Regions from separate parts of the Homo sapiens genome. Here region 1 is linked to region 2. The links are contacts of gene promoters, found by promoter capture Hi-C in blood cells and fetal thymus (Javierre and others, 2016). All regions are on one chromosome and are shown on one strand. Each heading gives the region's core, a stretch centred on a gene start or on the middle of the fragment in contact. The rest is flanking DNA. Distances are from core to core; before and after follow the strand shown. Region 1 overlaps KIAA0753. Region 2 holds the start of NUP88 (nucleoporin 88).

Region 1 (4,556 bases), core at 144-2,643, 1.2 Mb after region 2:
TGTGCACCTGTAATCCCAGCTACTCGGGAGGCTGAGGCAGGAGAACTGCTTGAACCCAGGAGGCGGAGGTTGCAGTGAGCTGAGATCGCACCACTACACTCCAGCCTGGGTGACAAAATGAGACTGTCTTAAAAAAGAGAAGAATTAAAAAAAAGAGAGAGAGACATTAAGATAGCATCTTATTGTAAACATTTTTTTCTTTTTCTTTCTGAGGCAGAGTCTCACACTGTCACCAGTCTCACACAGCAACCTCCACCTCCCGGGTCAAGTGATTCTCCTGCCTCAGCCTCCTGAGTAGCTGGGATTACAGGTCCACACCACCACACTCAACTAATTTTTGTATCTTTAGTAGAGACAAGGTTTTGGCCTGTTGGCCAGGCTGGTCTCAAACTCCTGGCCTCAAGTGATGCACCTGCCTCAGCCTCCAAAAGTGCTAGGATTACAGGTGTGAGCCACCATGCCCAGCCTTAATCTTGATTTCAAAAGACAAGTCTTTTCTCTAACATATTAAGATAGCAAGTCTCAAAATTATTTGAGTGTCTAGAGTCTTCATGTATTTCTCAGGAAGCATACCCTTGTACACACTGGTACTCTATATCTTGAAAAGATTGGTTCAAAGAAATTGTTTCTGGAAAACTGTTTGAAGAAGATGCAATCTATCTATTCCTTCCAGGCTGTGGTTTTCAAATACACTTATACAAACAAATTCTTATACGAAACTCCAATATACTCCAATTATCAAAGAAAAGGGAGTCTTCAATTAGTAAAAGTGTATTTTATAAGTTCAAATTTTTAATATTTACTCTTTAAAACATCAAACAATGCAAAGAGTATAAGGCTGTTTTGAAGAAAGCAAAAATCTGAAGTCAGGAGTTGTAGATACAGATGCAGTCTCAAGAGACCCTATATGTCTAATTACTTTCATCTCGTTTGGGCTGCATGGTAGGGGAAAATCCGGATTCACATACTTCTATGAACATAAATGGAACGGGCTTAGGTGGGGGGTTTGAAGGCTCACTGCAGATGATTCCCATGCAGCGCCTGCAGCTGTCTACAGAGCAGCACTGGGAAGCACAAATGGGCCTTCGGGGCTACTTCAAAGGGGGTCTGCAGCCAGGGGCCATCGCAAAATATTATTAATCCATGAAAGGTAAGTACAGAAATTTAAAGTATATGTTTACGTGTTTCCATAGCAGTTTGCCGCTACTGTGACATTTTTATTATAGTTCACAAAGTATTGACTTATGACACATTGAAAATTCATGTAAATAAAATAAACCAACCCAGTCCTTCCCCACAGAGACTTTGAAAGCTCTGTTCTAACAGTTCCCCGGTATTAGGCCAGATCACCAGAGCAGTGGGCCTTGTGGCTTTGTTCCCCTGGTCGCAGGGCTTCCAATCAAAGTAGGTAGGGGTCCATGCCACAGGCTGACACTAAGGAATATCAAGAGAAACAAGCCACAACATTTCTGTTATTTTTATGCTGGAATGGTTTTGAATTGTTCATGATATTATACAACACACTCTTTAAGAAGACCTACAGGAGAAATTTCTTTCTGGCCTTAATATGTGGAATAATTGTTTTCCTTACACAATTGTTTTTTTCTGTCTTAGACTTTGTAAATTCTCCAAGTGATTTGACGTTCCCTCTTTAGCTGGCTCCTAGGAAGCTCAGAAGCAAATCTGTGACTCATCCCTAGTAAATGTTTTTCCTTTCCTTATTGTTTCCTTTGCCACAATATCCTCATGTGCATTTTTGTTTTATCTTATTCAATCACAGGTATTTCTTAAGGTACCTTAAATTCTTTCATAAGATGCATATAGGTACATATGCATATATTAATTAAATTGAAAATGCAAAAAATAATTCTAGACTATGTACTACCCTAGTGCAACGGTTTCTTTTGATGCTCAACTCCATACCCCTTGCAATCTGAAAGCTGGGCTTGGTTCCCTACTTGTTAGTTACGGTAACCCCAAATTCTCCACGTGGAACCAGTCTTCTACTCAGCAGGGAAATACAAGGGCCCTGAGAACACTGCAGAACTGTAGAAAACCATATATGATGATTAAATTCCTTCCTTCCTACCCTGTGCTCACTTTACACATATACCCACAACTTCCCTTGTCACTGGTGTGTACTCACCTAAATACTGCCCAAGTGAGAACTGGTTTTACCTATAATATAAATACATTATGCTCTCTTTTCAAGCAAATTGAAAAATAATTTTCCCAGAAGAGGGAAAACATTATAGGATAATTTGCACTCAGGTCCCAGAAGACCTAAGGTTCAGCCAACATTAATGCCACCTCGTAGGCTGGGCCCTCAGTCAGTGGACATTTGAAGGGCAGCCACAGTGAAGAAGTTCTTTCATGTCCCTCCGCTGGAAAGAGGAGCTGGGGCAAGACACTGTTCAAACTCCAAGCCTAACTGTCTTGTCCTGAGTACTCACACTCCAGTGAACCAACTCACAGAAGGAAAGAATGAAATTGCTATAGGGGTTGAGGGTCCTCAAGGAATGCATTTAAACTACCCCATAATCACAGCCTTAGGTCGAAGTAAAGAATCTAATTTTTCTCACCTTTTTTAGTTACCTCTTCAATTTTGTGGATACAACTGCTCAGTTCTTTCTGGAGTCGCTGGACTTCTAGCAGGCTTTTCTGTTCACTTATGTTTTTGTGGTCACCTATCCTGGGATGAGGCTGAAGTCCCGGATCATGGGTGGGTGGCGAATTTGGCACAGTAAGATCTGACTGGCCTGGATGAGATGAGTAAAGGTATACTTTGGCACCAGAGCTGGAGATTTCTACTTTGGATGGCTGGTGGCTACACTGACAGGCTGCTTGACTCTTTGATTCCTTCCTTTCCACCCTGTGGTCGGGTATTTTATACTTAGTATGTCCACACTTCTGAGAGCTTTGAGGCTGACTTCTGAGATGATGTTCTTTTATATGTTTTTCAAATTGTCTTCGTTTCACATCTCTTCTGGCTAGGTGGACAGCATAGCTAAGTCTCTCTTGGGATATGACGGAAAATGAAACAGAACTGCCCAGGTCAGGACCAACTCTACAATCTGCATCTTTACAATGGTATGATTCATTGTATGAGTGCTTCAGTTTTTCAATTCTAATGGCATGTGGGCAAGAATATCGGATCGCCAAGTTGCTTGAATGTGTAGGAACATTCCTATTAAACTGCAGCTGGTTCTTTAAAAAGCAAATAAAAGTAAGCAGACATCAGAAAAATTTCATATTGCACAGTTGGTATATGTCTATAATCAAATTTCTAAAATTTTGCCACCAGATCATTAGTGCTAAGAGGCATTTTTCTGTTTTACTGATAGACACAGCCACGCTCCTACACCCTTGGGTTCATCACATACCCCTGGTTCTATCCTATAATCATCCAGTCCCATACTATTATCCTTCTGTTTACTAATGTCATACTGGGAACCATCTCTAAAAGTAAACCCAGAAAGCTTCAAGCAGCAACCACTAAGTCCTTCAATTTCCCAGTTATGGACTTCTGTCCTATTTCAAAATGTCAGGCCCCAGCAAGTGACCAATATAACCCATTGAAGCTTTCTTAAAATTTGCTCCACGGATAGATCCAAGCCATCTGATAGTACTTCTTCAGGTCTTCCTGAGACTTCATTTGGTGGCTGGATCCATCTTTTACCCTGCCCCTAAGTGTATCTCACTTGAAACAGTCCGCTTATGCTTTCTTACACAGGCTCAAGTTTTTGTCAGTTTTCCTCATAATAAATACAAGTTTTGTTTCGTTTTGCACTTAAACATAAACATGTTTCTATATCCCTACAGCTTTTATTTATCATTGTTGCATTTTCCAAAATCCAATGAATGGTCTTTTCATGCCTAACTATAATGTTAATATTAAACATTTAGATTGTTCCAGTTTTTCCACTAATAGAAATATTACCTCAATTAATGTCTCCATGCATTTAGTTTTTTAACCTTTTAAAATTATTTCCTTAGGATAAATGATCTGTTCTGGGATTATCAGGTTAAAGGAAAGAAACGATTTTATGGCTTTAAATATGTACCCTCCTTAGGCCTACCAGAATGAACCTGTCAAAGACCGGTCAATAGCCTGAGGAGAATCCATGCCTACAAATTCAATGAACCCAGTCCTGTGATGCCGTGACCTTGGAGATGGCCTCCCCTGCTCTCACAATCAATGTGTTTATATAATTACAGGCATCAAGAGTCACTTAAAAATAATCAATTGTGACAAAACTTCAGGGAAGTATTTCGGATTTTTAAAAAGTAGTTAGAAAGCTCACTAAAGAAAAAACAAATAGGTACCATCTGAAAGATACACAGACTGATGAACGGTGTTTGTCATTTGAGGTCAGGAGTTTGAGACCAGCTTGGCCAACATGGCAAAACCCCATCTCTACTAAAAAACATATAAAAATTAGGTAGGCGTGATGGCACATGCCTGTAATCCCAGCTACTCAGGAGGCTGAGACACAAGAATCGCTTGAGCCTGGGAGGTGGAGGTTGCAGCGAGCTGAGACTAAGCCACTGCACTC
Region 2 (4,470 bases), core at 794-3,293:
ACCTGAGGCCAGGAGTTCCAGATCAGCCTGGTTAACATGGTGAAACCCCGTCTCCACTAAAAATACAAAAAGTAGCCGGGTACGGTGGAGTGGGCCTGTAATCCCAACTACTCAAGAGGCTGAGGCAGGAGAATCGCTTGAATCCATGAGGTGGAGGTTGCAGTTAGCTGAGATTGCACCACTGCACTCCAGCCTGGGCAACAGAGCGAGATCCTGCCTCAAAACAAAACAAAACAAAAACAGCCGGGCGCAGTGGCTCACGCCTGTAATCCCAACACTTTGGGAGGCCAAAGCCAGCAGATCACGAGGTCAGGAGTTCAAGACCAGCCTGGCCAACATGGCGAAACCCCGTCTCTACTAAAAACACAAAAATTAGTCGGGCGTGGTGGCAGATACCTGTAATCCCAGCTACTCGCGGGGGGGGCTGAGGCAGAAGAATCGCTTGAAACTGGAAGGTGGAGGTTGCGGTGAGCCGAGATGGCGCCATTGCACTCCAGCCTGGGCAACAAGAGCGAAACTCCATCTCAAAAAAAAAAAAAAGACACAAAATAATTATAAATAATTAAGTTATGATTATGTCAAATGCTACACAGCAGTATAGAATGTTATTAGAATACTGCGTGCTGCACATTTGGTAATTATTATTATTTTTTGAGACACAGTCTTGCTCTGTTGCCCAGGCTGTAGTGCAGGGGCGTGATCTCAGCTCACTGCAACCTCCTCCTCCCAGGTTCAAGCGATTCTCCTGCCTCAGGCACCTGAGTAGCTGGGATTACAAGGGCGCGCCACTACACCTGGCTAATTTTTGTATTTTTAGTAGAGACGGGGTTTCACCATGTTGGCCAGGCTGGTCTCGAATTCCTGACTTCAGGTGATCCACCTGCCTCTGCCTCCCAGTGTTGGGACTGCAGGCGTGAGCCACCGCGCCCGGCCTTCATAATTCTTTTTAACTGAAATTGGGTAAATAAGTAGACTGTAGACTCCTGCCCTATTTTCAAAACTGCAGAAGCATTGCTAGCGTCTTATTAAAATTAAATCACTTCTCGGTAACAAGAATTGGACCGGGCACACAACAGATGTCATACCTTAGAATGAGTACCAAGCTCTTTTTCATCTTTAAGAGAATCTGTGTATTACAAATAAACATTTCCATAAACCAATATTTGACCACGGCAAGTGTGTAATACTTTCTGGATCACACCCATTTTCACATGCTGTCGGCTAATCAAAAACAAAAATCCCCATTTTGGGTATGGCTTTATTTTCTAAAGCGGGCGTTACGGGGGTAAGAATTAACAGAGACTTCCTCCTCCATGTCAAGCATGAAGCGTGGTGCTTTGAAACCTGCAACCTGACTTGCTGTGCACAACGCAAGAGAAAGTTACGATCTAACCTATTATAAGCGTCACATCAGGAAACAGGTTTCTCTCGACGAAACTAAAAATAGCAACTCCGCCCACTCGTTCTCAACCCCTTTAGCCCGCTTTGTTTTTCTCCAGAGCACTCATCCGTCACTAGTATTTTTATTGAATATTCAATGACCCTTTCCTTCCTCCCAGGCCTCCAGGCCGTAAGCATCGAGAGAGCCTGAGTCCCCGCGACCGCGTATGGCAGCGTCGGAGTCAATCCGCTGGAACGCCTGCCACAAGATGAAAAACAGCCAAGAGGAGCAAGGAACAAAAAAGACTGGTTCCGATCCCGGTGAGGGTCACTTCCAAGATCGGCCTGGCATTACCTGGTACTGGGACAGGGCGGGCTCTTCGCCGCCGCCGCTGGGGCCCCGAAGGCGAACGACTAAGAAGGAGCTGTCTTCTCCGTCCCACAGGAAAAGCTCTCCGCCGAGGCCAAAGACCACGTTTCTCGTCAGCAACTGCGGCGGCGGCGACGAAGGCAACGACGAAGAAGCTGGTTTCTCAGCTTCGGTTGGACTCTGGTTTTTCAGTCCCTCCCGGAGCCGCAAGAACACGACGTGGTTAGGAAGCCAGGTCTGCCACAGCTCGCCGTCGCCCACCGGTCCCTCGGCGGCCGCCATCTTGGCCCAACTGCTCCCCTCACTCCAGTTGCTCAGCCCGCCGCTGAGCACAGCCAATCCGCGGCCGTCCACTCACTGTTTCGGCCAATCACCGAGCAGACGGCCCGGAAGCTCGAGAGGCTCGTGCCAGGTCGGGGGGCGAAGGCGAGGCCAGCCCACCAAGCAGGGGCGTCACCAAGGGAAAGCCAATCACCATTATTTCTGAAGCCCAAGGGGGCGGGACGAGAAGTCAACATAATGGTGGTGCTGCTGGAAATCTAGCACCTGGGGAGAGCCTGAGACTTGTGTATCTAATTGCCTATTGGACACCTCCATCTGGGTAAACCCAGGCATCCAGAACTTTCCCTCAAGACTTACCTCCCTCAGTGCAGGTCGGGCTGGCCTCACGCATTTCGCTTGGATGCCTAAATCTGTCTCCACGTGGGGCCGGTCGATAAAACAACACTTCCCAGAATACGCTGCGATCCATTCGCGGTCTGCACCCGGAAAGTACACCTCCCAGGGGTCTGTGCGCGCCTCCAGGGAACGGGTCTTGTGGCTTTGTCTCCCGCGAAGAGGAGATGGCGGAGTCGTTGAGGTCTCCGCGCCGCTCCCTGTACAAACTGGTGGGCTCGCCGCCTTGGAAAGAGGCTTTCCGGCAGGTGGGTATGGGGTTTGTGCAGTGGTCTACCCTAGATCGTCCCGGTGACCGCCGTCTTCCCTGCCTTCGCCTTAGCCCTGCTCCGTGGAGCAGGTGCCGCAGCGCGCCTGGTCTGGTCAAACCCAGGCCTGCTGACTGTAGAGTGTGGGATTAGCCCGGGTCGGTCAAGTCCTAGAAAGCCTTGTTTTTGGATTCGATTTTGTTTTGAATTTAAATTGTGGTCAGGACATCACCGTTTGCACCTCTGCAATAACACTACCTACTGTTGCTGCGGAGGTGGCCACCGAGAGAGGCACTTTGTCTACGTTCGTCTTGTGAGATAGAGATGATTTCTATTCTAGAGAGTAGTAAAATGAGGCTTAGAAGAGGGCTCCACCTCAGTTCTGGCCTCTTCTGAACACAGTGTGGTTATTAGTAAGTAATGTCCAAGAAAGTAACCCGACGCAAGAAAGATAGCAGATACAGCAGAGTTTCTCAGCCTTGACAATGGACATTTTGAGGGAGATATTTATATGTTGTGGAGGGTTGTTTAAGCCACGTCTCGGGCCTCCACCCACTAGATGCTAATAGTCCTATAACTAGAATTGTGACAACCAGAAATGTCTCCAAGCATTGCCAAATGTTCCTTGGGGGACAAAACCTCCCTGAGTTCAGAAACGCTGCTGTGCAGGAAGGCCGTTACCCAGCCATATCTAGAGTAGCAAGAATTTGGAAGGAATATAAATGTTCTGTAATAGGACATTGGATGCTGAGATATTATGCACACAACCATTAAGGAAACTGGCAAGCTAGAATAAAAAATATGGTTCTTTGTAAATACGTGTACAAAGCATTGTAATTTTATGTATCTCTACAGAGGAATATGCAAAAGTAACACTAGTTAGTATTATCATTGAAATTTTGTGTCTATAAACTTTCTTTAATGTTTTCTCAACTAATGTAAGAGTGTTTTTTAAAAATAGAAATGCTTTTTTTTTCCCCCCCAATCTTGCTCTTTTTTCCCAGAGATGCCTGGAGAGAATGAGAAACAGCCGGGACAGGCTCCTAAACAGGTACCGCCAGGCTGGAAGCAGTGGGCCAGGGAATTCTCAGAACAGCTTTCTAGTTCAAGAGGTGATGGAAGAAGAGTGGAATGCTTTGCAGTCAGTGGAGAATTGTCCAGAAGACTTGGCTCAGGTCAGGCTGGGCTATGTGTTTTCAGGGAGGGGGACTGCACCACCAAGAACGGCTCGTGTCCTCTTTTATTTGTTTACTTGAGTCCTCTAAACCCACCATTCCCCTAACCCCATTTAGAATTCAACAGCCTTTAACCCAGGCTTTTCTACACTTAATGTTAGACTTGTCTAGATGAAATGGTCTGAAATACCAGACCGTAGACCTGCTCATCACTGCAACATCATCATTTATGAAACTAAAAAGAAAGAAATTTCATTTCTTGCCTCCACCCTTGGAAATTATGATTCAGTAGGCATAGGCTAGGAATCTCTTTCTCTCCCTCTCTCTCGCTCTTTTTTTTTTTCTGTCTTGCTCTGTCGCCCAGGCTGGAGTGCAGTGGCAAGATCTCGGCTCACTGCAACCTCCACCTCCTGGGTTCAAACGATTCTCCTGTCTCAGCCTCCCAAGTAGCTGGGATTACAGATGTGTGCCACCATGCCCGGCTAATTTTGTTTCTGTTTTAGCAGGGATGGGGTTTCACCATGTTGGCCAGGCTGGTCTTGAACGCCTGACCTCTAGTGATCTGCCCACGTCAGGAATCTCTTTCTAAAAAGGTCTCCAGAAACTTTCCGATTCTAATCTC

The links. Contacts are between HindIII fragments. The CHiCAGO score rates a contact against its expected background, and 5 or more counts as called.
Region 1: a fragment that was not itself captured here is called in contact with the fragment with the promoter of NUP88 in region 2 in 2 of 17 cell types (M0 macrophages and M2 macrophages); the score reaches 8.2 in M0 macrophages.

The regions. Positions count from the first base shown.
Region 1 is chr17:6,625,535-6,630,090 of GRCh38, forward strand. It overlaps KIAA0753, which reads right to left. Exons shown (of 19, transcript NM_014804.3): 3 at 2,583-3,207. Among named protein-coding and RNA genes, the nearest start is that of KIAA0753, 13 kb to the right of the region's middle. The HindIII fragment of the contact is 4,167 bases long and covers 1-3,477 here.
Region 2 is chr17:5,417,619-5,422,088 of GRCh38, forward strand. NUP88 (nucleoporin 88) reads right to left here and starts at 2,044. Exons shown (of 17, transcript NM_002532.6): 1 at 1,736-2,044. The coding sequence starts at 2,032. It overlaps RPAIN (RPA interacting protein), which reads left to right and starts at 2,564. Exons shown (of 7, transcript NM_001033002.4): 1 at 2,564-2,673; 2 at 3,678-3,848. The coding sequence starts at 2,593. RefSeq lists enhancers at 1,406-2,045, 1,681-2,218, 2,219-2,756, 2,486-2,605, 2,616-2,835. The HindIII fragment of the contact is 9,370 bases long and covers 1-4,470 here.